Linked DNA regions of Homo sapiens: regions 2 and 3 are each linked to region 1. Evidence: promoter capture Hi-C in human tissues and cell types (Jung and others, 2019). All regions are on one chromosome and are shown on one strand. Each heading gives the region's core, a stretch centred on a gene start or on the middle of the fragment in contact. The rest is flanking DNA. Distances are from core to core; before and after follow the strand shown. Region 1 holds the start of RCN3 (reticulocalbin 3). Region 2 overlaps TSKS (testis specific serine kinase substrate). Region 3 holds the start of TSKS (testis specific serine kinase substrate).

Region 1 (2,700 bases), core at 32-2,531:
CTCATGATCCACCCGCCTCTGCCTCCCAAAGGGGTGGGATTACAAGTGTGAGCCACCGCGCCCGGCCTAAGGTCACTTTTTTTTTTTTTTTTTAAGACAGAGTTTTGCTCTTGTTGCTCAGACTGGAGTACAATTGCGTGATCTCAGCTCACTGCAACCTCCGCCTCCCAGGTTCAAGCAATTCTCCTGCCTCCCAAGTAGCTGGGATTACAGGCATGCACCACCACACCCGGCTAATTTTTTGTATTTAGTAGAGACGGGGTTTCACCATGTTGGTCAGGCTGGTCTGGAACTCCTGACCTCAGGTGATCCACCTGCCTCAGCTTCCCAAAGTTCTGGGATTACAGGCATTGAGCTACTGTGCTCAACCTGAGGTCATGTATTTTTAATTCATAACTTTTACAAATATTTACTGGATGACTGCCATGCCAGGCATTTTGAGGAATTCTTGGCTACTGTCTGACCACCTGAATCCTTGGAGCCGAAGAGGAGCGAGGAGCAGTGTTCACTCTTGGAGGAAATGGGATATTTCCTCCGGCCCCTTGATTCTGCTCTCCCTTTTCTTTTCTTTTCTTTTCTTTCTTTTTTTTTTTGAGACGGAGTTTCGCTCTTGTTGCCCAGGCTGGAATGCAATGGTGCGATCTCGGCTCACCACAACCTCCGCCTCCCAGGTTCAAGCAATTCTCCTGCCTCAGCCTCCCAAAGTAGCTGGGATTAAAGACATGCGCCACCACACCCGGCTAATTTTGTATGTTTAGTAGAGATGGGGTTTCTCCGTGTTGATCAGGCTGGTCTCGAACTCCCGACCTCAGGCGATCCGCCCGCCTCGGCCTCCCAAAGTTCTGGGATTACAGGCGTGAGCCACCGCGCCCGGCCTTTTTTCTTTTCTTTCGTTCTTTTTGTTTATTTTTGTTTTGTTTTGTTTTGTTTGGTATAGAAGTGTTGGAACGTACACCTCTTTCTTAAACCATCCTGACAAAGGGAAAGGGAAAAATACATTTCCCGTGAGGCGTTGTGACTAGAACAGCTGGAGGTGGACGGCAGAGTGCCGCGACGACTGCCAGGAGTTGTAGTTCTCCCCGGCCGCGTCACTGCGGTGTCGCCCACCCTTCTTCCCCGGGCAGGCCGCGGTTTCCTTTGTGGACGTGGCGAGGAGTGCCCGCGGCACCCCGTGCACTCATTGGCCCCGCCCCGTGAGACGCTCGTGCGAGCTCATTGGGCGGGGGGCGGGGCTCTGCGCTGCCAGAGGCGGGGCCTGACTGGAGAGCGGCCGAATTGGGCACATTTGCGGGAACGCAGAGCGGAGCGTGGAGAGCGGAGCGAAGCTGGATAACAGGGTAAAGGGAGTGGGTGGGGGGCCTCTGTCCAGGGAGGGCGGCTCGGGTCGAGGACCAGGGTCCGGACTGGGAGCAATGACGGGGAGCCTGCCTGACCTCTCGCTGGCCACAACTATGCCCTGCACCTTGCGTGGGATGTGCGCCACGTCTGTCTCTGTAATTCCCCCTGGCAGGTCTGGGACCCCCCTGAGACTCCGTCAGAAGATTCGGTCCTCCCCATAGGTGGCTTTACCTCTAAGCATCCCGCCCTCTTTTCCCCCATCGCCCGCCCTTTTTGAGCCCGAAAGCTTGCAGCCAACTTCCAACTCCCTGTCCTGTCCTAGGTAACCCCTCCACCCCGCCATTCTCCTATCCCGTGTCTGTCCCCATCCCTGTGACCCCTGACCCCTGGCCTTTGCCACTCCCCAGGGACCGATGATGTGGCGACCATCAGTTCTGCTGCTTCTGTTGCTACTGAGGCACGGGGCCCAGGGGAAGCCATCCCCAGACGCAGGCCCTCATGGCCAGGGGAGGGTGCACCAGGCGGCCCCCCTGAGCGACGCTCCCCATGATGACGCCCACGGGAACTTCCAGTACGACCATGAGGCTTTCCTGGGACGGGAAGTGGCCAAGGAATTCGACCAACTCACCCCAGAGGAAAGCCAGGCCCGTCTGGGGTAAGAGAGACATTCGGTTGGGGCGTGTCCAGAGGTGGGGCTTAGGAGAGAGACGCGGGGGTATCGACAGGGGTCAGAGAAATGGCGTGGACTGAACTTCATTTCTTTGTGAGAAATGAAATTCTACCTTCTATCCTTGGGAAAAAGAAATTAAGTTAAAATTGAGGCCTAAAGAGGACCTTTGAGACCGGGCGTGGTGGCTCATGCCTGTAATCCCAGCACTTTGGGAGGCCAAGGCAGGCCGATCACTTGAGGTCAGGAGTTCGAGAACAGCCTGGCCAACATGGTGAAATCCCGTCTCTACTAAAAATACAAAATTAGGCAGGCGTGGTGGTGGGCACCTGTAATCCCAGCTACTCGGGAGGCTGAGGCAGGAGAATCGCTTGAACCTGGGAGGTGGAGGTTGCAGTGAGCCAAAATTGCACCACTGCCCTCCAGTCAGGGCGACAAAGTGAGACTCCGTCTAAAAAACAACAACAACAATAAAAAAGAGGACCTTTGAGGGCAGCAAAATCTGGGTTAGATTCTGCCCCCTAAGCGCTCCTTATTCTTTTGTCCCAGACATCTCCCCTCCCCAAGCCTCAGTTTCCTGCTCTGTAAATGGCAGGGACTGGTGTGGAAAATGAGGTTTGGCCTTTAAGGAGCCCGGCCAGTGCAGGAGAGTGGCAGAGCCCTGAGTTTCAGGGTGAGCTGGGTGGAATGGAGCC
Region 2 (2,700 bases), core at 133-2,632, 220 kb after region 1:
CTCTGAAGCTTTGAACTCCTGGGCTCAAGCGATCACTCCTGCCTCAGCCTCCCGAGTGGCTAGGACTACCAGGGTGCGACACCACACCACTCCCAGCTAATTTTTAAATTGTTTGTAGAGATGGGGTCTCCGCTATGTGGCCCAGGCTTGTCTTGCACTCCTGGCCTCAAGTAATCCGCCCACGTCGGCCTCCCAATGTGCTGGGATTATAGATGTGAGCCACCTCACTGGGCCACCTTTTGTAGATTACTGTTTGGAATGCCCCTCCTAGTTCTCTTAATTGATTTTCTCGGATCCCACTTGACCCCACCCTTTGCCCTTTTAAGGTATAGACCACACCCCTTCTCTAATTGATTCCACCCCTCAGGCCTTATTAGGGCTGATGCAACCCTTCCTGCTCTCTAATTGGTGTTTCCCGATGTCGGTATATGTTCCGGAATGCCTGGCCATAGCTGATTGGCCTACCCATTTCCCTCAAGACCCCGCCCTCAGGTTGGGATTGCCCTGCCCCTTCCGGTCTTCCCATGCACTGGCCCCAATCCTCACATGGTGCACAGCTCATCCGCCCGACCTCGCAGCTCCTGCAAGTCCCGCGCCGTCTGTGCCTGTTCGCGCTGTGCCCGCTCCCACTGGCCTAGGAAGCCGTCGACCCTGCCGCCCAGGCCCCCGAGCAGCCGCAGGGCTTCCTGCACCGCCCCCTCCTCCTGATGCCACCGGGCGGTCAGTGAGGACACCTCTCTCCTGGAGGGGCAGAGGAGGGGAATGGGTAGGGGCTAGGCTTCAACAGGTCCCCACCTACCCCCACGAGATAGGTGGGACAGGACTCACCTATCTCGCCCCACTGAGACCATGCCCGTGGCTCCAGACCCACCCAGGTCACCAAATTTTATTGCACCCTCCATTTGGTGAAATTTGGTCGTGTCCTCCAGAGCCCCGCCTTTATCCCCTTCCTTTATTGGCTATCTTGGCCCTTTCCTGGTCAGGTCCCCAACCTCTACCTGGGCTCCTCCAGACACTGGCCCCCCAAGGCACTGCCCACCCTACTCTGCCCCACGTGGTGCCTCCAGGACCACTCCTCTCCTAAGCCCCGCCCACCTCAGTTTCACCAGGCCTGGACCTGCCTCCCAGCAGCCCAGAACTAAAAAGTTCCTTATTCTGTCCCTCCCTTGCTCAGGTCACTGCCTTCGGGGCACTCCCTCCTCTGCTCTTGGAGACCCCAGCCTTGTCGCCTTCCGGTTAAGATCTAGGCCGGGCGCGGTGGCTCACGCCTGTAATCCTAGCACTTTGGGAGGCCGAGGCGGGCGGATCACGAGGCCAGGAGATCGAGGCCATCCTGGCTAACACGGTGAAACCCCGTCTCTACTAAAAATACAAAAAAATAGCCAGGCGTGGTGGCGGGCGCCTGTAGTCCCAGCTATTGGGGAGGCTGAAGCAGGAGAATGGCGTGAACCCGGGAGGCGGAGCTTGCAGTGAGCCAAGACGGCGCCACTGCACTCCAGCCTGGGCGACAAGCGAGACTCCGCCTCAAAAAAAACAAAACAAAACAAAAAACGATCTTTGAGGAACCTCCCCTGTGTCCCCGCCCACCGCAGCTCCTGGAGACTCCTCCCGTGTCTCTACCCACCTTCGTTCCTCGAGGCTCCTCCCATGTTCCCGCCCACCTCAGGTCCCCGAGGCTCCACCCATGTCACCGCCCACCTCAGCTACTTGAGAACCCCCGTCCCTTGGGTCCCGCCCACCGCATCTCCTCGAGGCTCCACCCCTGAGTCCCCGCCGATCTCGTTTTCGAGGCTCCGCCCCTAGGTCCCGCCCACCTCAGCTCTTCGATGCCGGTGAACAGCTTCTGCAATTCCTGCTCGCTCACGTAGGGGCCCTCGCCAGCCCGAGGCCCCATTCCCCAGCCTGCGGGGACCAGGCCGTGTGGCCGCGAGGGTTTGTCGGGACTCCCTGGCGGGCCGGGGCAGCCCTGGGACGTGGCGGCGGGGCCCAGGCTGTTCCAGGAGAGGCCAGCCTCCGGCTTCTGCTTCTCCTCCGGCTCCTGCTTCTCCTCCGGCTCCTGCTTCTCCTCCGGCTCCTGCAGCTCGGCCTCCTGCCGTCGCGGCGTCTCATCCTGCAGCTGCTGCTGGAGGTAGCGCAGCTTCTCCTGGGTGGTAAGGGAGGACGGGGTCACAGCGTCCAGCCGCTTTCCTCCCGCAACCACCTCCACCCCAAAATCCGCTCCAGTACTCCCCGAGATTGGAAGTAGAACGCCTGTGGGGACAGTATGTTGGAAGTCTCACTGGCTGTCATTAGGGAGGGGAGGCACCATTTGAGGCCCAGTTGGACTCCAATTCCCGCTAACCTCCCACAGCCTGCCTCCAGGTATCCACCCGGCCCTCCAAGCCCTCCAGGCGTCAAATACCAGTCCCGGCCACTTGGCAAGAACAACTGAAGCTTTCTCAGCATTTTGTTGGAAAATGAGTGGGCATGTGGACAGGACGGGCCTTCTCACCTGAAGTCCAGCTCGATTCTCTTTCTGGGACCTGAATGTGACTGCAGGGCAAGAGTCCCCCATCTGGGTGTTGGAGCCTCATTTGAATCCCTCTTATCAGCGAGTTCTAAGGATGACTATGTGCACGAAGGTGCAGTGTGGTGGTGGTGTCGGGGCAGGGAGTTCCACCTAAAAGTGTATCTTGAGTCCCTCGTGCATCTGACCTCCTC
Region 3 (2,700 bases), core at 1-2,500, 240 kb after region 1:
GCAGGGGGCCCAGCCAGTGTGAGTTGGCCGCTGAGGTCTTCCACTGTGGAGTCTGTCCCCGTGGAGTCAGTGGGCTCCATGGCGGCCAGGTTGAGCAGTGACACGTTGGTGCAGGCCGAGGACCGTTTGAGGTTCAGGCACCAGTGCATGGGCTGATGGGACATCTGGGGCTCCACCCTGCAGAGAAGAAACAGGCAGAAAAGTGGAGAAGCAGCCCCAGGGTGTCTGGGCCCTCCTGCCTTCCTTTCTCCATACCTCACCCCCTGTGACTCCACCCTCACTGTATATAAGTTTCTCCCTTCTCTGTCCCCGCTGCCTACTTTATTCTCCTTCCCTGTGCTGCCTACTTTCTTTCTTTTTTCTTTCTTTCTTTTTTTTTTTTTTTTGAGACAGAGTCTCACTCTGTTGCCCAGGCTGGAGTGCAGTGGCGCGATCTCAGCTCACTGCAACCTCCGACTGCGGGTCCCAGTTCAAGCAATTCTCCTGCCTCAGCCTCCTGAGTAGCTGGGGTTATAGGCATGTGCCATCACGCCCAGCTAATTTTAGTATTTTTAGTAGAGATGGCTTTTCACCATGTTGGCCAAGCTGGTTTTGAACTCCTGACCTCATGATCCACCTGCCTCGGCCTCCCAAAGTGCTGGGATTACAGGCGTGAGCCACCGTGCCCGACCACCACTGTCTACTTTCTTCTTCTCCTTCCCCGCTGCCTACTTTCTCCTCCCTTCTCTGCCACCTACTTTCTTCTTCATTCACTAGCCTCCCTTCTCCTTCTTCCCTCCCCACTGGCTTTTTCCTCTCTCCATCCATCCCCATTACCTTCTTCCTCCCTCCATCCATCCCCATTACCTTCTTCCTCTCTACCTCCCTGTGACTTGATGTCTCTTCACTGCTGCCCTCTTTCCTGCCCCCGACCTGCTGGCTTTTCCCCCTCCCCTTCCTCTAGCACCCACAGTCGGACTCCTGCTCTGTTGGAGGTAGTGCTGGGCATTAGAACCATCCCTGACAGTGTGCAACAAACCCACCCGTGGAACGACACGGCCTTCTTTTTCTTCGGGATCCCCTTGGCCCGGCTGGTCACCCTCCGGGGAGCCTCTGGGACTAGCTGGGAGCAGCTCTCCACCCCCGTGGGGGTGTCCCCGGCCTCATGGATCTCTTTGGACTGCCAGATCGTCTTCACCACCACGCTCGCCATGGTGTGGGGGTCTGGCTCCCAGGGAGGGGCTCCTTCCTCTGAGACTTCCTACCTACTGTGACCACAGACCCTCAGGATCCACTGTCCCCTCAGCCTGCCTCACAAAGGACCCAACCACTGGGCCCCAGTGAGTGGGGGGCACAGGGTAGGGAGAGATGCTGGCCCAGGTCATTCCCCTAGGGTTCTCAGTGGACTCCTCCTGTTCAGGATTCTAGTTACATGCCCAATGTGCCCCCCGTCTTCAGAGCTCCAGTGGATGGATTCATGCTAGCCTGTAACTTAACAATGGGTCGGCCCACGGATTCTTGGGAGAGGTCCAACTTCCCTCTCCCTGAGACTAAGCGTGGGGTCACACAGCCCTGTGCACTTGTTCTTGATTCTTCATGTAGCTTCCTGGATTTGACAATTGGCTGGGGTTTGAGAGACTGTGGTCGAAGAGGGCTGAGATCCAGACCCTGACCTGGAGGGTCTCATATTCTATGGGGCGTCGGGGTCGGGGGAAAGGCAATATACAGGTAGATCAACAAAAGAAAGCTAGGTGCGGTGGGCCTCGGGGTCAGGGTAGAAGGTGAGGGAGGAGAGGAAGGTAGAGAGTTGGGGCAGGACAGAGGGTGGTATCCCCCTCCCCCGTTTATTTATTTATTATTTTCTTTAATACTTTTTATTTTTTTTGAGACAGAGTCTCTCTCTGTCATGGAGGCTGGAGTTCAGTGGCGCGATCTCAGCTCATTGCAACCTCCACCTCCCGGGGTTCAACCGATTCTCCTGCCTCAGCCTCCCCAGTAGCTGGGACTACAGGCGCTGGCCACAATGTCCGGCTAATTTTTGTATTTTTAGTAGAGACGGGTTTCACCATGTTGGCCAAGTTGGTCTCAAACTCCCGACCTCAAATGGTCCACCCGCCTTAGCCTCCCAAAGTGTGGGATTACAGACATGAGCCACCATGCTCCGCTATAATTTTTTTTTTTTTTTTTTAGATGGAGTCTCGCTCTGACACCCAGGCTGGAGTGCAGTGGCGTGATCTTGGCTCATTGCAACCTCTACCTCCCAGTTTCAAGCGATTCTCCTGCCTCAGCCTCCTGAGTAGCTGGGACTACAGGTACCTGCCACCACACCCATCTAATTTTTTTTTTGTATTTTTAGTAGAGACAGGGTTTCACTGTGTTGGCTAGGCTAGTCTCCAACTCCTGACCTCGTGATCTGCCCACTTCAGCCTCCCAAAGCATTGGAATTACAGGTGTGAGCCACTGCGCCCCGCCCGCCCAAAGTATTTAAAAAATATATGGAACATGTCACAAATTTGCATGTGGTCTTTGCGCAGGGCCCATGCTAATCTTCTCTGTATCGTTCCAATGTTAATACATGTGCTGTCGAAGCGAGCACTGCCCTGCTATTTAGGGACAGACTTTTCCTGTTCTCTTCACACTTCTCAAAAAGACTAGTTCAAACATCACTGCTAATAGACATTTTAAATGCTGTTATCCCCAGGGAGAAAGTACTTCTTCCTG

What was found. Contacts are between HindIII fragments. The study calls those that stand out against the background at their distance.
Region 2: a contact is called between a fragment that was not itself captured here and the fragment with the promoter of RCN3 in region 1, in 1 of the 25 tissues and cell types used here (dorsolateral prefrontal cortex).
Region 3: the fragment with the promoter of TSKS here is called in contact with the fragment with the promoter of RCN3 in region 1 in 2 of the 25 tissues and cell types used here (dorsolateral prefrontal cortex and small bowel).

Annotation. Positions count from the first base shown.
Region 1 is chr19:49,526,722-49,529,421 of GRCh38, forward strand. It overlaps RCN3 (reticulocalbin 3), which reads left to right and starts at 1,282. Exons shown (of 7, transcript NM_020650.3): 1 at 1,282-1,337; 2 at 1,746-1,993. The coding sequence starts at 1,752. RefSeq lists an enhancer at 1,198-1,776 and a silencer at 1,240-1,359. The HindIII fragment of the contact is 21,368 bases long and covers 1-2,700 here.
Region 2 is chr19:49,744,656-49,747,355 of GRCh38, forward strand. TSKS (testis specific serine kinase substrate) reads right to left here. Exons shown (of 11, transcript NM_021733.2): 6 at 1,815-2,143; 7 at 547-741. Among named protein-coding and RNA genes, the nearest start is that of TSKS, 17 kb to the right of the region's middle. RefSeq lists enhancers at 1,513-2,032, 2,033-2,552. The HindIII fragment of the contact is 5,825 bases long and covers 1-2,700 here.
Region 3 is chr19:49,762,056-49,764,755 of GRCh38, forward strand. It overlaps TSKS (testis specific serine kinase substrate), which reads right to left and starts at 1,251. Exons shown (of 11, transcript NM_021733.2): 1 at 1,023-1,251; 2 at 1-177. The coding sequence starts at 1,192. It also overlaps the pseudogene RNU6-841P. RefSeq lists an enhancer at 1-4. The HindIII fragment of the contact is 39,317 bases long and covers 1-2,700 here.